Regions from separate parts of the Homo sapiens genome. Here all the other regions are linked to region 1. Evidence: promoter capture Hi-C in human tissues and cell types (Jung and others, 2019). All regions are on one chromosome and are shown on one strand. The core of a region is centred on a gene start or on the middle of the fragment in contact, and the rest is flanking DNA. Distances in the headings are between cores, read along the strand shown.

Region 1 (2,700 bases), core at 98-2,597:
AGAGGCAAAAGGGAGAAACTATCTTTATTCAGAAGGTGACTCCAACAGAAGAAGTCTTCTACGACTTATCTTCTGGCTTTCTTTCCTCCCATCCTGGCCGGGAGCTAGGACGCAGGACCAGTTACGTAGAGGCTATGGGGTGGGGGTAGGGTGGGGAGGCACTCCATGCATTTATAAGAACTAAAATGGCAGAAGTGATGAATGGCATTTCGGGACAGAAAATTGGAAAAAAAAAAAAAAAAAGGAAAAAAAGCCTAATATTAAAAATGTCTTTGGACTTGTGGCCAAAGGTGCCACCTTAAAGCATGACTATGTCACAGGTGTCTGGAATGATTCAGTCTGGACACTAATCTTGGCTTCTTCACTCGTTGCTAGTTATGTGACCTTGGGAATGTGGCTCAGTTTCCTCTTTGTAAATTAGGGAGATGAACACAGGATTATTGTGAGGATTGGCACTAATGATGTACGGAAATACTGTGTCTGATGCAGAAAGGGCACTCACCCGCTCATTAAAGGGTGGCTAATGGTAGCTGTGATTATTGCTTCCTTTATGATCCCTCTGGCCCTAGAGGGGATGAAATTGAGGTGTTCATGGAAGTGAATCCCAAGGGGGAGCAGGGGTAGGTAGCAGGCTGGTGATCTCGGCTCTCAAATCCTTTCATTTGCATTGAGTTAATCTCTATCAGGGACTGTTGTGTTAACAGGAGGCTTCGATGTTGGAGTTCCCAAAACGGCTGATAAAGGGAGGCAGAGGTCCTCAGCGGGAGGGCAGAGCTGAGCCACCACGTGGGTCCACGAAGCCCCCAGGTGGCTTTCCTGTAGGTATGTGGGGTCTCCTTCAAGCTCTAAGGGGAAAGGAAGAGGAAAGGCCTTCAGATGGGGAAGTGGACGGTGTGATGGAGAAGAGGTTCTGCACGGAACTTACTGGAAGGTGCGGGATGTTAAAGGGAAAACGTGTTTTCATGGAGGCCTGGGCGGGGGATTAGCTCTCCGTTAGAGAGGCTGGGTGGGAGGCCTCCAATGGGAGGATTGGTGGCGGTTTCATCGGGAGGGCTTGGGGTCTCCATGAGAGGATTAGGGTCTCTTCAGGGCGGCTGTGAGTGGAGGTTTCCAGCGGGGCGCAGTGGGGTGCAGATGTGTAAGGGCCTGCAACGGAACGCCAGAGTCCTCCGGGGCCCGCGCCCTGGGAGACGTGCGGGTGACCGCGCTCCCGCCCCGCCCCCACCGGCCACGGCCCCGCCCCCGCGAGCGGACTACACTTCCCAGCAGCCCCAGCGGGCAGCGGCGGCGGCAGCGCGGGCGGGAGGGGCGGTGGTGAGAGGCGGAGGGGGCGGCGCGCGCCGGGCACGCGCGCCGGCGACCATGGCGTTCGCCGGGCTGGAGCGAGTACATTAACCCCTGGAGGCGGCGGCGGCGGCGAGGGAGCGAGCCTCGAGCGGGCGGGCCCCAGCCTGAGGGAAGGGAGGAAGGGGCGGGGAGAGCGCCAGAGGGAGGCCGGTCGGCCGCGGGCGGGCGGGCAGCGCAGCGCCGAGCGGGGCCCGCGGGCCCATGAGGAGGCCTGGGGACCATGGGCTCCAGGATCAAGTGAGTGCGGCCGGGCCGGGCGGAGCCGGGCCGGGCGCGGGGCGGCGAGGCCGGGCCAGGGCTGCAGGCCGCGGGCCGCGCGGGGGACTTGTTGCCGAGACCAGAGGGGCGCCCCGCGTGACGCCGGCACGCGGGGAGGGGGACGGTTGCTATGGCGATCCAGGGAGGCGCGGGGGCGGGGTGCGCGCGGGGTGGCAGGGCGCCGGGGGTCAGGTGTCCCCTCCTCACCTGGGGGTCGGAACAGCTGAGATTACAGGGCGGCCCCCTCCCCGGGTTTACGGAGAGCCCCTGAAAATGGTCCTTCAACTGTGGGGAAGGGGAGTGGGAAAGCCCCGGAAGCACCTCCCCATGTTTGGGCATGTTTGGGGCGCCCCTGAAAGTTGGCAGGTCCGGAGAGGTTGCAGCCTGGCCGCTTGAGGCCTGCGGCCCCCACAGAAGTCGCGTGAGGTTCTTAGAGGGAGGGGCCGCTCATGGTGTGGCCACCTAAGGTGTGGATGGCCGGGGAGGAAGGCCTGTCTCTCTATTTCCCCCCTCTTATCTGTGAAAATCTCCACGCAGCAAGGTCCAAAGGCTGTGAAGGAGGATACCTCTGTGTTGTAACCGAGCACCTGCTCTTGATAATCGTTGGAAAGGCTTTGTAACTCAATCTGGCGAATTCCCTCACTCATTCATTCACCTGGAGTTCCCGGTGGAGGGTTAGCTTTCCGGGGAAATTGTTGATACATGTAACTTCAGAATCCACTGAAACATTGTTGCTGTCCTTGTAGACTTAGAAGTTGACTTTGGAAAGTGCAACTCTTAAGCGGTCCAATTTGGGTGTGTGGCTTTCGACTCTATCTCCCCTCCCAGCCAGGTCCTCTTGTGGCCTCTCCCTTCCTCTGCCCCAGAACTGGAGATGTTTTATCTCTAATTACTAACAAATGTTCACTTTTTCCTCTGTGACTAATAGAATTGTTTAAGGGCATTAAAAAGCAAAGTTGACAGCATAGGCTTTTCTGTAAAACAACTTTCCTAGGACACTTTAAACCCTCTTACAAGAAAGTTTGTGGAATGTGTTTATTTCAGCATTTTGAGAATTGTACTAGGGAAGTTTGAAAGGAGAAGGGCCTTAAGGGT
Region 2 (2,700 bases), core at 115-2,614, 500 kb after region 1:
ACTCGAGATAAGTGGACAATGGCAGGTCTCTCCAGGTTGGAGCTGCCCATAGACTCCTAGCAAGGAGGAGCTGCGGGAGGGCGTTGCCCTGGCTGCTCCCCAGGAGGGAGCTGGAAGGGGTGATGGAGCTCAGTTCCTTCTCCCAGACTCCCCGGGAAGGCATTCTTCCTCTTCCTCTGGGAGGGGTTGAACAAGAGGGTGCCTGGCCAAGCCAAGGATTCCCCCCTGGTTTTCTCTCCTAGGGTAGGAAATGGAAGCTCCTCCTTCCCACAGCTATAGAAGGAGTGAGTGAGTGGTGTCCTCCCCGGCAGCCCTGGGCACCCCTTGGTTAGAATGGCTGGCCTTGACTGGCTTCCCTCCCGAGGACCCCTGTGGAAACTGCTCTGCTCCCTACATTTAATAAGATGGGTGAGCCATAGATGCTTTCACATCCGTGAGCACTGACTTGAGACTTTGCCATCAGCGGGTGAGGAAGAAATCATTTTACCCATCGTACACATGAGGAGGCACACTGGAACGGCGTTGCTGGAATGAGTAGCTAATTCCTACTCCAAATCCAGCAGCAGCAGCACCTCTGCTTCTCTTGGCTGTGTGCAGCTCTCCCTCCTTGCCAGGAGAATGGCCTGATTGTGTGAGTTCAGTGACACTGGACCCTAGTCCTAGGTGCAGATAGCCAAGGCTAGAGACTGAGGCTTCCCTGAGAATATCACAGCAAACCCCTTCCAGGGCCCCCTTCTTTGTATTTCCTCCAAATGACTGATCTGCAAACAAAGTAGTTGCCTGCCTTCCAATCTGATAGATTGCAAAAAGCATGTATTGAAAGGTGCTGCCTCTGTTCTTCTCCCATCTGAACAAAGGTTTCTAAACCTCTTTAATGTAAAGTTTGAAAAGCTGGTTAAACCAAAACCAAAACCAAGCACCACCGTGGCTTCCAGAGAACTGTGGCAGGGAGGTCTGGATAGCAGCCCCAGGAACAGCTCTTGGGATGTGGTTGCCGGCTTGTCTCTGCGTATGGAGAATTCTGGCATCAGGGTCATCAGCCAGGTCATTTAGTGCCAATCCCATGCTAGGCTGGAGAAGATGCCGAGCTAGCAAATGCCTTCTCAGCACCCTTGGCTCTGAGTGCCCTGAGAGAGTCCTCTTGCCCCACTGAGCTTGGAAGCCACATGCAATTCCCTTCACTTCAGCCATTGCCTCCTCACCACCTCCAGCAGGTGCTCCCATGTTCTCAGGATACTGCACACCCCAGGCCTCTGGTCTGAACATACACTCCCCACCAAACTCACTCCTCCATCTTCCACCCCAGTGAATGACACAGGCTGGCCATCCAGAGCCAGGCTCCGCCCTCCTTCTCCCCAGATCCTCTCCTTCCACCCCTGAACACTACTTCATCCTCTCCTCTCCATCACCTTTGCCACAGCTGTGGTGCAGGCAGCATAATCATTCACCTGGACTGTTTCACAGGCTCCTAACTGGTACTCCCTGTAGTCCCCATGTGGCCTTGCCGGGTCCACTGTAAGCCGGGTCCACTGTAAGCATGCACTTACTGTAAGCATGCACTAGTGGCCGCCTCACCCCCGCTCCCAGCCTCTCCTAAAGACTCCATCTTCCTCCTTGGCCCCTTTGTGACCTGCCTGTCCAATCCCAGAGCAGGCCTCCTGGTAAATTCTCCCAACTCCCCTAGGAAGAGTGAGTTGCTTCTGTCCTCGTGCTACCCCAGGACTATGCACACGCCGCTTGTCACGCAGCCCTGCAATTTTTCTTTAATGCTTGCCTTCCCACCAGAAAGTCCACTGCAGGGCCTGGCACTGAGCTGGCAGTCAGTGCACATCCTGGGGTTTTATTATTGGTGTGGATGTTTAAATTAAGGAATAATTGATTGTTGTTGAAGCACTTGCTGTGCATTCAGCAAGTTATTTGGTTTCATTTCTGTTGCTATGCTTGTAATTCTAATTCATTTGAAGAAGAAAAATGAACATTCCCTTAGTGGTCACAAACTATTTCCAAATTCACTTTCCATAAAGAAGGATTTTGAAGTGAGGCCGGGCATGGTGGCTCACGCCTGTAATCCCAGCACTGTGGGAGGCCAAGGCAGGTGGATCACCTGAGGTCAGGAGTTCAAGACCAGCCTGGCCAACATGGTGAAACCCTGTCTCTACTAAAAATACAAAAATTAGCCAGGCATGATGGCATGCGCCTGTAGTCCCAGCTTCTCAGGAGGCTGAGGCAGGAGAATTGCTTGAACCCGGGAGGCAGAGGTTGCAGTGAGCCGAGATTGTGCCACCGCACGCCAGCCTGGGTGACAGAGTGAGACTCCATCTCAAAAAAAAGGATTTTGTTTCCAAATAGAAACAGCTTTGTGTTATAGCAATTTAGATCCCGTCTCATTTTATTTTGTGTGTTTTTCCTAGTTCCTAAGGTCAGTCATAGGTGTCCCCGGAAGGGAATGGAGAGGAATGAGGCAGGGAACTGGGACCCCCCTTCTCCTGTGCCCAAGGATGGGCAGAGCTGTGCAGGAGCAGCACAGTGGGGAAAGCAGTCAGGGGAAGGGAGGGGCCCATCATCCCTTGAGTCACATCAAGCGAAGCAAGCAACAGGATAAATTAGGCGTAAAGGTTTTATCTGTGAAAGAGACTAGGATACATGACCAAGTGCAAAGTGTGAACCTAACTTGGATTATGTGTTGTTGTTTTTTTAAAA
Region 3 (2,856 bases), core at 160-2,659, 380 kb after region 1:
GAATATTCCTCCTTCCTAGAGAGAACGAAAGAATTTTTTAAACAATCTTTTACCTCACTCCTTTGTTTAAAATTATATCATCATGAAATCTGAATAAGGCTAATACACCCCCCTCGAAACACATTTCACACACGCTGGTCTCAGTTTTAAAGAACTTTTGCAGATAGATTTGTGTGCTTTCAATTCATCCCCTTTTCTGCTTAGAGTTTCTTATTTCATAACCCATGCTGCATGACGGTGCATGTGAGGGTTCCTCTCCCCATGTCTGGCCCACCGCAGGTCCTTGGTATATGTTAGGTTAAAGAGCAAAACCCATGGGTATTGGTGTTTGAAGACGCGTCCTCTTCTGTGCCAGTGTCTGTGGAAAGGCCAGTGTAGATGGAGCACTATGGGAGCTGTTTATTCAGCTAGCTTGTGTGGCCCTCTCTGGGCCAACCTGCTAGCTGGGCTTCCCTAAGATAAAGGGAACAGAGCTACTGCCCACAGGGAGCGAATGCTGGGTGGGGGCAGTAAGCAAACTGTTTAAACAGGCAGCAGCCAGCTCACTCTGGTCCCACTTGCTTAGTTCATCCCAAGAGGCCAGCTTCCAGATTCAGCTGTGGGTACACTGGTATCATCCACCTTATAGCCCATGATTTTGCATGTGATTCTGCTGAGTCATATTTATCCACCTAAAACCCCTGGAGGACGCAGAAGTTGAGATAAAAGCAGATTGATAGCCTGGCTTTCAAGGATGAATGCACGAGGTTGTGTTGGAGCAGGTTGGAAAAACACCACATATATCTGTGTCCTGATTGAGTAACCCTGTTGATCTCAAGTTGTTTATGAAAAAACAATAAAAACTGTTTTCGGATTTGTTTTTGGTGTAGTGGAAAGCAGAAAAATATTTTTAAAGTAGTAAAATCAAAACAGCACCATAGTCCCACTGATTTTTACTACATATGCCTTTTGTATTTACTCTTTATTTTTTCATTATGCAAAGGGTTTACATAGGTACAAGCAAATCTCAGTTAAAAGTTAGTTCCCCGCCCCCATTTAACAAGATTTCATATGCATTTTTACATAACTGCAGAATATTCCATCAAGTATAACTACCATAATTTCCATAACCACCCTCCCTTGTTGGACATTTAGGTTATTTCCAGTCTTTTGATATTATAAGTAATACTCCACTAAACATCTTTGTGAATAAAGCTTTGAAATGCTGTATTTCAAAGCCTTCTGAGTGGAAGAACTGAGTCTGTGAGCAGGAGCCTGACTGTGGGGGCCAACTTGTCACAGCATCGCAAGAAAGCAGATTTCGGTTGACTCAGCCTCGCGGTGGCTCAAGATGGAAAAAGAATCAAGAACCCTTGATGGGTGGGAGGGTGCGCACTCCCTGCCCTCCACACAGACAAGCAGAGGATTCCCAGAACACACATAAGGGATGTGACTAATTTGTCTGTGCCCCCATCTTGTGCTGAAAATAGGTTTGAGGAACCTTAAGACACTATGTACAGTACAGCAAGATGAGAGATAAGGAAGCAAGGAAACCGGGAGAAAGAGGAAACTGCATGACGCCTGGAAGGGACTGATGTGTGTGTGCAGCTGTGTGTCTGTGTGAGGCTCTGTGACCCTCCACACAGGTTGGGAGTGGTGGAGCTGGGACTCACCCCATCACACCCAGGTCTGTCTAAAGAGCCCATGCTTTAAGGAAAAAAAATGTAAAAAATACATATAACATAAGATGTGCTATTTTAACCATTGTTAAGTATACAGTTCATTGGCATGAATGGCATTCACAATGTGCAACCATCACTACTGTCTATTTGCAACATTTTTCATCACTCCCAACAGAACCTCTGTATCCAGTGAGCAAGAACTTCTCATTTCCCTTTCCCCCAGCCCTTAGTAACCTCTAGTCTACTTTCTGTCTCTATGAATTTGCCTATTCTAGATAGTTCATAGAAGCGGAATCATTCAATATTTGTCCCTTTGCCTGGCTTATTTTGGTAGCATCATGTTCACCAGGTTCATCCGTGTTATAGCATGCATCAGAACTTCAGCCCTCTTTAAGACTGAATAATATTCCACTATCTGTATATACCATATTTTGTTTATCCACTCACTTGTTAATGGACACCTGGGTTGTTTCTATGTTTTGGCTGTTATGAGTAGTGCTGCTGTGAATGTGTGTGTATAATTAATAGTTGAACACCTGCTTGCAAGTCATTTGGCTATATACCTAAAAGCGCAGTTGTGGGTCATCTGGTAATTCTACGTTTAACTTTTTGAGGAACCTCCAAAATGTTTTTCACAGAGTCCGTGCTTTTGTTAAGTGGGTAGCAGTGTCTGTGGGAAGCACGAATATGGACCCAAGAATATCTGTAGGAAAAGTTCATGAAACATTTGTTTTATTTTCCGGTATATTTTAGGCAAGTGGATAAGGAATTATAGCCAAAACCTACAGGCCGGAGCTAAGCAGATTCATTGATGGGGGAGTGTAAAGGGGACTGCAGAAGGGGCTGGTAACTTGCTAATTAACATTTTTTCCCATTTTAGTGGTCATCTGAAGTCAAGATCATGTCCTGGGAATGAAGCAAGGATAAGGGGAGGTGCTTCTGCCCCAGGACTTCAGGGACCATCACTATAGCTCTGTGGCTCTAAGTGGCTAAGGAGGCCACCGAATGTGATGGAAGGAGTATGGCCTTTGGAATCACCTGGGTTTTAATTCTAGTTCTGTCATCTACTAGAAGATGACTCTGGAAGTTACTTCACCATCCTGAGACTCACTTTTCTCATGTGTAAGATGTAAATAATGCCTAGCTAGCAGGACTCTTGAGAAAAATAGCAATAATATGCACCAAACACCAGCAT
Region 4 (2,879 bases), core at 205-2,704, 330 kb after region 1:
GTTGACTTCATAAACTCCTTGCAAGTGATTAGGGGCGGGGCCATTGTGGGAGCTCAGAGACCAGCAGTGTGATGATTGAAGAGCCGTACCCTTGGCCTAGACAAATCCCACTTGAAATCTGGGCGCATGTGGTTTTGTTTAACACCATGCTCAGCCGACTCATGGTATGGGTTTGTGACCATCAGGCATTTGTTGTTGATATGTGAGGTCACCACAGTAGGGGTGTTTGTCAACCAAATTAAACTTCCTCTTAATGACCTAAAATAATTGATTTGGAAGGCCGTTAAATGGGCCAGGGCAATGTGTAAGCAAGCCGAAATCCGGCATTTTCTGCACAAATTAATGCATGTTCTTGTTCTGTTTGTTCGTGTTTTGCTTTTGTTGGGGAAAATGTGGCTGGACCATGGGCTTTTTGAGCAGTCAGTGAACCTGAGTTTGAATCCCAGCTCTGCCATTTATCTATCTGTAATTTGGGCAAGTCGCTGAGCTTCTGTGGGTGTGTGCCTTAATATCCCCATCAGCAAAATGAGGACACCTGCCATAAAGTGATGACAATTAGAAATAATATGACCGAAGTGCCATGAACATTACTAGGCCATCACCCTCTGGTAGCTATTATTATGAATAAAATATTTCCAATAGGCATCTCTAGAAGATAGCTCAACAGTCGTTTTGTACAAAGAGGTCAAACTGTGATGTAGTAACCATGCCTTTTTTCCCCCCTGCTAAACTAATTTCTCCACACACTACTCTCTGTACTAAAGTTAAACATCCAGAGAGAAAAGTGTGTTTAAAAATGGAGTCTATAGATCTCTCTTTACATATTGTTTGATTCTCAGCTGATTTCAAGATGAAATTAAAGTTGGACACTTAAGAGATATGCCGTTTAGGCTACAAAAGAAGTAGGTTTTTTCTTTGGCTATTGGATTCAAACATTTATGATCTAAGTTCAGGCCTTTGCAGGTAAAGCTTGGGACCACCATTCTATGTTTGTTTAGAAACAAAGGCATTGACTGGGGGCTTTTCTGAAGTATGATGAACAGTGGCACTGAAGTTTTGTTTTGTGGTTGGAAGTTATCAACATCCCTGAGAGTGGTTTATGTGTCTTGCCTAAAATCCTTCCCTCCATAAACCCAAATATTGACAAAAGCTAAAAGGTGCAGATTGGAGCTGTGCCTAGACTCCTGGACACTTCCTTAGCCAAATATAATGTCTGCTAAACCTTGGTGCCTAGGAGTCCGTTGTTTCCAAAGATCCAGTGGTAATAAATTTATATCCTCCCTCTTCAGCATTTAACTGCAAATATTTTGTACTGACCGAATGGGTTAAATTATGAAGCTTGATAAGTACATATGCACACTACCCATCCCTAGCTTTAGAAGAAGGGGGAAAAAAAAGAAAGAAAAAGATAGCTATGATTTTTGGATGTCATCCCAATTTTTAAAAATAAGAGAATTTGGACATTTTGGCATATGGGGTTTTTTAAATGAAATTTCATGGAACTGAAAACAGTCAATTTTAGGTTTCCAAAAATTGTTTAGATTTTCGCTGGTATAAATTTGCTGCACATGGTTTTGGGGAAGTTCTGAGAGATGCATTTGGGACTTTGGGGTTGGTTTTTTTTTTTTTTTTTTTTTGAGATTTGTGATTGAGTTTTAAAAGGTGATTTTCCCCCCTCCCCCAACCTCAAAGTGTAAATCAGGGGAGATCAGAGTTCCATTTTCTAAGGACACTTTTGGGTAATGACATCATTATGCACTGCTGCACAACTGGACTTGGGGCTGAGTTATTGAGCCTTGTTTCAGCACCATTTGGACACTGCACAGTATATTCCCCTTCCCTGCCTCGGAGTGATTTTGGCCGTGCCATTAGCAGCAGCTGCTGGTGATAAGCACCGGGAGAGTCACCTGTGTAGGGTCAGGCTTATTGCACATCAAGGTTTGGCAGTGTCAGAAGAGAGGGAAGATGCCCAGGAGGGGGCTCCAGGCCACCTGCCGAGTGAAGATCAAAGGGTTGAAAGGTCAGAGGGCTCAGCTCCCTTAACTGTATCTGTCTGTGCAATAGCTATTTCAGATTGTAAATCTTGGCGATTTCATTAAGTCCTCCTGGCTGCTACTGGGGCATTGAAATAATAAAATTTTATATCTATTGCCTTTCCTGCCTCTGGCAGCCAGGCTGATACGTTGTCTGCAAGATGGGGTCGTCTTTATGAAAACCTTCCCTGGAATGATCTGAGTAGCATTAATGAAGCCTCAGATTGGGAAGTTGGGGTTCATAGGACGTCATCCTCAGCAGGAGGGAGGGGGTTTATAAATAAAGAAGACCCACACAAACCATTTAGCAGCCTTTTAGATTTGTGTAGCACCTCTCTTCTGAAAAGCAGGTCAGCAAAATATTACCTATTGCTAAATGTTTAATCTTAGGAGGAGGGGTGCACTTTCTCACTGCTGCTGCTTATTAAATAGCCCCTGTTCTAATGACCCTAGGGCCCATCCTTTTGAATAACCCCAAGAGCAGCTATACAGGTCTCACTTCTCACTCTGCAGACCTTTTGGGTGCTTTTAGAGACATGTCTCCTGAATATGATTTTCCAAGTATTTTTCCTAGATCTTAAAGTTGTTAAGGACTGTGAGGGCTCCTAGGCTCGTGGGTAGGACAAATCAAAGTAATAGCTGCCCCTTTACTGCCCATATGTTTAAGACCCCCTGTAGTTTGTTTGAAAAGTTAAGAGATTTTCACAGTGAAGGTGCCATTTCTGAAATTTAAAGTGTTCCTTTTCACCGCAAGATAAGTTCACTCTGATTAAGTCCGTAATTCTCACTAAGCCATGTTTATGGGGGCAATAAACAATGTTTCAGCGTGCTTGTTAAATTGGGTTT
Region 5 (2,808 bases), core at 81-2,580, 310 kb after region 1:
TTTTTTTTTTGAGATGGAGTCTTACTCTCTCACCCAGGCTGGAGTGCAGTGGTGCGATCTCAGCTCACTGCAACCTTCGCCTCCTGGGTTCAAGCAATTCTTCTGCCTCAGCCTCCCAAGTAGCTGAGATTACAGATATGCGCCACCACACCCAGCTAATTTTTTGTATTTTTAGTAGAGAAGGGGTTTCACTATGTTGGTCAGGCTGGTCTCAAACTCCTGACCTCAAATGATCCGCCCACCTTGGCCTCCCAAAGTGCTGTGATTACAGGTGTAAGCCACCATGCCCAGACTGGACAATTTCAATGTGAACTGTTTTCCAGGTGGAAAAATTAGGTAAAGAAGAGACTGGGCCCTTTGTATTATCTATGTTACAGATTCTGTGCTGATCTCTATACTGAAGACTCTATAGGAAAACTGTCTTTTCAATTTCTCTGCTACATTTTTTAAGTTGAAATTTAATCCACATACCACAAAATTCACCCTTTTAAAAGTATACAGTTCTGGCCCGAACTGCAGTGGCTCACACCTGTAATGCCAGCACTTTGGGAGGTGGGCAGATTGCTTGAGCCTAGGAGTTCGAGACCAATCCTGGGCAACATGGCAAAATCATGTCCCTGTAAAACAAATACAAAAATTAGCCAGGTGTGATGGTGTGTACCCGTAGTCCCAGCTCTCTGTGAGGCTGAAGTAGAAGAATCACCTGAACGTGGAGAGTTGAGGCTGCAACGAGCTGTGATCACGCCATTGCACTCCAACCTGGTCAAGGAGAGTGAGACTCTGTCTCAATCAATCAATCAATCAATCAGTCAATCAATGTATGTATACAGATCAGTGGTTTGTAGTCTATTCCAACTATCTAATCCACTATCCATCTAATAGATATATCACCACCACTAATTCCAGACACATTAGATTTTTAATACAGTCTATATTGTTAGTAAAGTAATACATTCTTATTATAAAAAACTTTTTTAGGCTGGGTGCGGTGGCTCATGCCTGTAATCCCAGCGCTTTGGGAGGCCCAGGTGGGTGGATCACCTGAGATCAGGAGTTCAAGACCAGCTTGGCTAACATGGTGAGACCCCGTCTCTACTAAAAATGCAAAAATTAGCTGGGCGTGGTGGCGTGTGCCTGTAATCCCAGCTACTCTGAGGCTGAGGCAGGAGAATCACTTGAACCTGAGAGGTGGAGGTTGCAGTGAGCTGAGATCGCGTCACTGCACTCCAGCCTGGGTGACAGAACGAGACTCTGTCTCAAAAATAATAATAAGAAGAAATAAAAAACTTTTTTAGCCTTTTAAAGTACATATAGCAAAAAGCGAAAGGTCTATAAAAATGGGTTAGTCTGTGTAGATGGTTGCCATTCAGCCTTTAGCCCTGTCCCTCTAGAGGCACCCCGGAAGGCACCGATGTCAGGAGTATAGCGGGACAGCTCTCACTGGCCTCAGCAGTGTCACTCCCAGCGTTACTGAGACTTTCAGGGTTAAAGAAGACAAGGTGTCCCTTTAACACAGGAGTGACCTTCCCACATAGGGGAATGGTGCTTGTTGGCTCAGCCACCCACCCTTTGGGGAGCTGTCTGGACCACAGCCTAACCACCTCCTGGCTACTGTATCTGCCTCTGAGCCTCTGGACCTGCCCTGCCGCTCCCACCTTCCCCAGCCCCCTCCTTCTGCCTAATGTCGGGAGGGGCAACAGCCCGCCTCCCCTGCCCTAGTTTCTGCTGGCCTCCATGCAACGTTGCTGGCCCCGACTCCTGCCTACCTGCCTGAGCATTGGCCTGGTTTTCCATTTCTCATGACACATTCTGTACGTGAGTGACACATTCCTCATTCCTCCCTGATTTGGAGCCTGGCTTGAACCCAACACTTAGAAAACTCTGGACATTCTGGGGCACAGTATAGGGGGCTCTATAGCAACGACACTCTAGATATGTTCCTGGGAGCCATAGTTCACCCATAAGGCAGAGGCCACAGACCAAGTAACATCAGGGTCACAGGAAGTTTCAGCAGTGCAGCAAGTGACCTCATGGCAGGGCTTCTGGAGATAGTGTGCCTGCCTTTTTCAGGTGCTGGCACCAGGGACAGTATGTGCAGCACCAGCATAGTGATAGGCTCTGAGTGACCTCTCAGCAAGTGCGGGTTCGTCTTCCCTTTAAAACGTGATGAATGGAAAGGCGAGGCTGCAAAGGTAATTGGATGCTATGCATCTTGGCACATGGGATGAGTCCTGGAAAAACAGCAAGAGAAAATCTCCTTTTATTATCAGTTGCGCTATTTTTTTATCCTTTTTTTCTGTTACTTTCTCTTCATTTATTTCTCCATAAGCCTCTTTCTCTTTTTCTCTTATTTATTTTGTGGCTCATTCATTCATGTGTTTCCACAGGCTCTCATGGGCTGCTTGTGGCTCACAACTTGAGACTTCCTTTCCGTGTCTGGCTTTAGCTATTACGGTTCTCATTGAATTCTCTGTGGCAGCAGAGAGCCCTGTCTCCTGACCTTTGCTCTGTGATTAACTTCTCCTGCCGCAGTGGTCTTAGCCACGGAGCCCTTCCTGATGTTTTCCGAGTCTGTCGCCTTCCGGTAGGCCAAGGAGGCTCAAAAGGGCGGGCTACCCCAGGCTTTGATGTTGACCTCTCCAGAATTTTGTCCAGGTGTTATCTTTGTAACTCATGTGTTCATTTCTGTTGGGTCCAGTGGCTTGGGGCTCTAGAAGGCATCTCCACCACCCCCACCTGCATAGGTTACCCCAGGAAGCCACAAAGCCACACTCAGAAGGGCATTGTCCTCCCTTTCCCAGTCACTGA
Region 6 (2,720 bases), core at 206-2,705, 410 kb after region 1:
GCTTTCCCAGATGCTCTCCTGGTGACTTCTCCTCCAGTGCCATTGACCAGAATTGAGTCACATGCCATGCCTCTGCTCCAGCCCATCACTGGCAAGGAAGTGAGGCCACCAGGTTAACTTAGATATGAGGACCCAGGCCAGGTGTGGTGGCTCACATCTGTAATCAAAGCACTTTGGGAGGTCAGGCAGGCAAATCACTTAAGACCAAGAGTTCAAGACCGGCCTGGCCAACATGACAGAAACCTTTCTCTACTAAAAATATAAAAATTAGCCTGTAATCCTAGTTATTCAGGAGGCTGAGACGCAAGGATCACTTGAACCTGGCAGGTGGAGGTTGCAGTGAACCAAGATCGTGCCACCACATTCCAGCCTGGGCAGCAGGGTGAGACTCTGCCTCAAAAAAAAAAAATTTAAAAAGATATGAGGACCCAGCCCAGCTCTGGGGATGGAATCTGAAAGAGTCAGCCTCATGGAGGAGGAGGGAGGCATGAACAAATTGGGGGTTCTGTTAGGCTAGAGAGAGGAGGGAATGAGGGCTGGGTGGGCAGCCAACAATAGTGACTGGAGACAGATGATCCCCTCCTTCAAGGAGCTTACACTGTAGGGAAATACAATAGTAAACAAGGAGACAGACCGATGTACCATTTACAGTTCCATCCGCGCTGTACAGGAGGTGAGCAGAGTTTGGTGCTTCTCCTTCAGATGGTGCATCAGGGAAGTCCTCTTGGAGCTGACATCAGCCATCCGTGTTGGGTGGAGGGGAGAAAATGTTCCAGGCAGAGAAGGGAGGCAACACGGCCCCTAGGAGGGACCGAAGGGAACGGGGGAGCCCAGGATGTAGCAAGCAAGGTGAGTGGCTTGAGTTGAAGTTACAGATTTAGGCAGGTTCACGTCATGCAAGGTTTTAGAGGCCATAGAAAGGAGTTTGGGTTTTATTCAAAATCAGTGGAAGGCCAGTGTAGGGCTTTTTAAAATGGGTGTGACACAGTTAATTTTATATTTGTTAAAAGTCCTGCTGGCTGCTCAGAGGATGGCTTTATGAAAGCACAGAGAACAATTGGAAGGTCCCTGTGATGATCACCTAGACCACCTAGACAGGTGGGGGTGGCATGGACTGTGGTGTCAGTGGAAATGGAGAGGAAAGAGCTTTTTTGGAGATGGGATCAGTAGGACTTGCCAGGTACTGTGCTAGCTCCATTCCCATGGGCTCTCTTGTCCAGTCTTCTCTGTATGCCTAGACAGTCATTTTTTAAAATAAATTATTATATCCCCTTTGCAAATAAGAAAGTTCTGAGGAGTGGCCTGCCCTGGGTCACAGCATTTAGCTGAGCCAGAGTAGGGAGGAGTAGGACAGCTGGATTCTGGGGTAGGTGGGCAGGACCAACTCAATTAGCATTTTACTGGGATTGTTTTCCTAGATGAAGCTTTTGTTTTTGAGGGTGATATTTTGAGAACTGCTGTCTCCGTGGGAATATCTTAGTTGTGTACAGCAAAGCCATCTCTGCATCTACATTTTCTTGTTCAACACATGGCTGTCTTTATAATGAGTGCCTTCTTTATATGGGGTTATCAGAGTAACTCTGAGTCTATTTTACAACTAAATTAATGATGTCGAGGAAACATTTATTTGGCTCCCTTTCTATTATAATATTGTTACCAGCTAATTGCCTTTGAATATTCCTACTTATAAGGTCCTTTGTGCCAGTTTAAATCTACCCCGTGTAGGTGAATCCCTAATGCCGCTCAGGGCTACTCAGTCACTTGGAAAGTTTCTCTTCTTGTAATAACAAGAGCAATCATGAAAATTTATGCCAGGAAAAAAGGGTCAGCTTGAGACAACACCTAAAAAATAATAATATATATTTTTTTCTGATTATAAAAGTAACATTTTTAATGCAGAAAATTTGGAAAAGACAGAAAAGCATAGAGAAAGAAAGGTCACTCACATTTCCACCACCCAGAGGCGTTCCGCATTCAATTTTGCTACTTCTCTTTACAAGTGTTTTTTATGCCTTTTTAAATAATTGAGTTCAGTCAATATCATTTTTCTTCCTTTTTCATGCAATTATATGGATTTTCCTCACACTATGAGATATTGTGTGTAAATAATCAGTTGTAAATGGTTGCGCAATTCCTCTGCTTGAATTTGCCTCACTGTGCCACAGTTTATTTAACTGTGCCCCTCTTGTTTTTTTTGTTTGTTTTGTTTTGTTTTGTTTTGCTGTTGTTTTTTTGAGACAGGGTCTTGCTCTGTTGCCCAGGCTGGAGTGCAGTGGTACGGTCTCAGCTGACTGCAACCTCCCCCTCCTGGGTTCAAGCAATTCTCCTGTCTCAGCCTCCCAAATAACTGGGAATTCAGGCGCACCACCATGCTCAGCTAATTTTTTGTATTTTTAGCAGAGACAGGATTTCACCATGTTAGCCAGGCTGGTCTCAAACTCCTGGCCTCAAGTGATCCACCCACCTTGGCCTCCCGAGTGCTGGGATTACAGGCATGAGCCACCATGCCCGGCCCTCCCTTCCTGTTTAAATTTTTGTTGTTGTGATATGAATGGGTTTTTTGGGGGGGGTTTTGTGGGTTTTTTGTTTTTTTTTTTTCTGAGACGGAGTCTTGCTCTGTTGCCCAGGCTGGAGTGCAGTGGTGCGATCTCGGCTCACTGCAAGCTCCACATCCCGGGTTCACACCATTCTCCTGCCTCAGCCTCCCGAGTAGCTGGGAC
Region 7 (2,700 bases), core at 81-2,580, 350 kb after region 1:
TTCTGAAGATGGCAAATTCCAAGATGCCTTTTAAATGACAAAATGAGGTAGCCTCAGGGAACCAAAGTAACTTGGGTGAGTTATTTTCCCTCTTTGAGCCTCAGTTTTCCACATTAAAAGAGGAGTACCAGGCTTGCTCTGAGGATTATTATGGCAAACAGCTATGGTAATGATTATCAAATGCTTGGCACAGTGCTTGCATGTTGTCAGCATTCAAGAAATGGTACCTGCATTTGTTTTTAATAAAATTGTTGCTGATAATTATAGGCAAGATTGGAGGACAGTTAATAACCTCTATGTCCTGACAGTCTCAGCGTGCACAAATGGGACCTCCTATATGCAAGCTGGTTTGTAACAGGGTTGAGAATGTTCTACAGCAGTGGTTTCCAGCTTGGGCCTCTATACTCATTAAGGATTCTGAAGATTGTAATGGGGGGAGATGTGGTCTGTAAGGTATTTATTGTATTTCAATGGAATTCACAGCTTTGATTCTGTGATGCTACATGAGCTATCAAGAGGAGAAATCGTGCCCTGCCTGTCTTTGTGTCCCCTGCATTTGGCATAGGACCTGGTAATTTTAGTGTATCAGCCTATCCATCGTTGACCTTAAAATCTCCCCTTTGGCCAAAGTTGTGTGTTTACTCTGACAGATTCTGCTTCTTAAACATTTGGTAAATCCACATCCTCTTCCTCATCCCTCCTAAACACCACCTAATCTAAGCTTTTATTTTCCCCCTGCATTATTACCAGCAGACTCAAGACTGGCTCATCTGACTCCAGCCTCATCCCTCCAATCTTTCCGCCTCATGCCCCAGAGTGACCTTTCTAAAAACATAAACTCCATTTCCCACCTAACTAAAACTATTCCATCAGTGAATGTAATTTTTCAAAAAAACATTTAAGGACAAAAAAATTCTCCTATAACTTCCCATTACCTAGAGATTCAAGGCAACTTCCCTTTGTTGGCTTTGAAATCAAACAGACCTGTTTTCACATCCTGGCTTCCTCACTTCATGTCCGTGTGATCTTGGGCAAAATTACTTAAGCTCTCTAAGACTTAATTTCCACATAAGGTTGTTTGAGAATTAAATGTAATATATATAATATATTTAAAACATATATCCTATCAGCACAATCGACAGTAGCTGATGATGATGAATTATGGATGTGAATTATGATCCGCAGGGCATTCAGCCCTCCTTCATGATACCCCCCTGTTTTTGTTTCTCCATAGCTGTAGTTCTCTCTCCTCCCTGCTTTAAACTCTGTACTGTAGGTTTTTAGAACTGTTAATGGTTGTCCCAAATTTACATGTTGTTTCATAACTTCATACTTTGTATGCAGCATTTCTTTTGTCCCAGTGTCTTACCTCATCTATTAATCTCTCACTCATTCTTCAAGACCTGCTCTCAAGTATTTAATCACACACACACACAAACACATGCACACACACACACACAAACACACACTGAATCTTTTCTGACCTTCACGTAGATTTGACCATATCTTTCTCTATGTCCCCACAGCCCCTTGTGTACCTTGTGTAATTGTACTGATTTATTGCCCATTTCCCTTTTACTTGTCAGTTTTTTGGAGTAGCAGTAATTGAGTTTTATTCATCTTTGTTTTCCAAGAATCTAGCAGCCACTGAATAGATAGATGGAAGGATGGAAGGCACATATGGATTGGGTTATTATGGTAGATGAAATCTTGTAAAACATGGCATCTACGCTGGAAACTTTATTAAAAGAGGCTTGGGGCCAGACATGGTGGCTCATGCCTATAATCCCAGCATTTTGGGAGTCTGAGGCAGAAGAATTGCTTGAGGCCAAGAATTCAAGTTTGCAGTGAGCTGTGATTGCGCCACTGCTCTCCAGCCATGATAGAATAATTGGAACTGGATTAATCCTCCCACAATTTAAAACTCTGGACAAATATGAAAACAGCTGTTTTCACATGTTGGACAACAGACAAGACAAGATTGTTATCCCTGAGTGAAAGGAAGCCAGTGAGGTGAGGCCTACTATCCCACTGGCTTTCTGCCTTGAGGCATTTTCTGGATATTGGTACTAGAAGGGGAATCCCCAGCAAAGCACAACAGTCTTGGGGAGCTGAAAGATTAAAGAACAGTTTGAAGGGGAGATGGTTTACATTTGCAAGTGAGAGTATCAGACAGGAGGGAGCTACTCAGCTGAAGAGCTCCAGAAACCTGAATTGACAAACCTGCTGAAGACTAATCTGCCCATATGTAGGGTAAAACTCCTGACAGGAAACTATAAGATGAACAGTTCTCAGAGCTCACACAAGTCTAGGAATCCTGCAGGTTCTGACCAACCAGAGTCAGAGATCTTGTTGGTCATTCAGGACAATGATAAGAGACACCAGTAGGGCATGACTTGATAGTACATCTAAATTAGCTATAAAGATCATTTTAGCCCTGCCCTGAAAGAGCTTAAAATTAAGCTTTGAGAGGCACAAGAGAGGGCTTTAGGGGTCCTAAAATGTGCTGGATTTTAATCTGAGTGCCAGTTACATGGGGGTGAATTCGTCAAGCTGAGCACCAATGGTGTGTGCATTTTTATGTGTGTATGTTAAACTTCGATGAAAAGTTTTAAACAAACCTATTTCTTTTTAAAGAAGTCTTTAAAAGATCAATCTGATGTGCAAGAAATCTAACCTTGTGTCAAAATAAACTTCAAC

Evidence for each region. Contacts are between HindIII fragments. The study calls those that stand out against the background at their distance.
Region 2: a fragment that was not itself captured here is called in contact with the fragment with the promoter of DENND1A in region 1 in 1 of the 25 tissues and cell types used here (dorsolateral prefrontal cortex).
Region 3: a contact is called between a fragment that was not itself captured here and the fragment with the promoter of DENND1A in region 1, in 3 of the 25 tissues and cell types used here (IMR-90 fibroblasts, mesenchymal stem cells and spleen).
Region 4: a fragment that was not itself captured here is called in contact with the fragment with the promoter of DENND1A in region 1 in 1 of the 25 tissues and cell types used here (liver).
Region 5: a contact is called between a fragment that was not itself captured here and the fragment with the promoter of DENND1A in region 1, in 2 of the 25 tissues and cell types used here (H1 embryonic stem cells and aorta).
Region 6: a contact is called between a fragment that was not itself captured here and the fragment with the promoter of DENND1A in region 1, in 2 of the 25 tissues and cell types used here (bladder and spleen).
Region 7: a contact is called between a fragment that was not itself captured here and the fragment with the promoter of DENND1A in region 1, in 7 of the 25 tissues and cell types used here (IMR-90 fibroblasts, aorta, dorsolateral prefrontal cortex and 4 more).

What each region holds. Positions count from the first base shown.
Region 1 is chr9:123,928,773-123,931,472 of GRCh38, reverse strand. It overlaps DENND1A (DENN domain containing 1A), which reads left to right and starts at 1,347. Exons shown (of 24, transcript NM_001352964.2): 1 at 1,347-1,584. The coding sequence starts at 1,568. RefSeq lists a silencer at 1,121-1,610 and enhancers at 1,961-2,160, 1,790-2,475, 2,411-2,490. The HindIII fragment of the contact is 15,721 bases long and covers 1-2,700 here.
Region 2 is chr9:123,433,667-123,436,366 of GRCh38, reverse strand. The region is part of intron 19 of DENND1A (DENN domain containing 1A); the gene reads left to right. Among named protein-coding and RNA genes, the nearest start is that of MIR601, 32 kb to the right of the region's middle. The HindIII fragment of the contact is 6,550 bases long and covers 1-2,700 here.
Region 3 is chr9:123,547,931-123,550,786 of GRCh38, reverse strand. The region is part of intron 13 of DENND1A (DENN domain containing 1A); the gene reads left to right. Among named protein-coding and RNA genes, the nearest start is that of MIR7150, 64 kb to the right of the region's middle. The HindIII fragment of the contact is 5,418 bases long and covers 1-2,856 here.
Region 4 is chr9:123,597,215-123,600,093 of GRCh38, reverse strand. The region is part of intron 11 of DENND1A (DENN domain containing 1A); the gene reads left to right. Among named protein-coding and RNA genes, the nearest start is that of MIR7150, 110 kb to the right of the region's middle. The HindIII fragment of the contact is 3,343 bases long and covers 1-2,879 here.
Region 5 is chr9:123,617,416-123,620,223 of GRCh38, reverse strand. All of the region lies in intron 10 of DENND1A (DENN domain containing 1A), which reads left to right. Among named protein-coding and RNA genes, the nearest start is that of MIR7150, 130 kb to the right of the region's middle. The HindIII fragment of the contact is 5,109 bases long and covers 1-2,808 here.
Region 6 is chr9:123,517,133-123,519,852 of GRCh38, reverse strand. The region is part of intron 13 of DENND1A (DENN domain containing 1A); the gene reads left to right. Among named protein-coding and RNA genes, the nearest start is that of MIR7150, 33 kb to the right of the region's middle. The HindIII fragment of the contact is 4,477 bases long and covers 1-2,720 here.
Region 7 is chr9:123,577,603-123,580,302 of GRCh38, reverse strand. All of the region lies in intron 12 of DENND1A (DENN domain containing 1A), which reads left to right. LOC105376266 (a long non-coding RNA gene) reads left to right here. Exons shown (of 2, transcript XR_930332.3): 1 at 1-2,700. Among named protein-coding and RNA genes, the nearest start is that of MIR7150, 93 kb to the right of the region's middle. The HindIII fragment of the contact is 6,217 bases long and covers 1-2,700 here.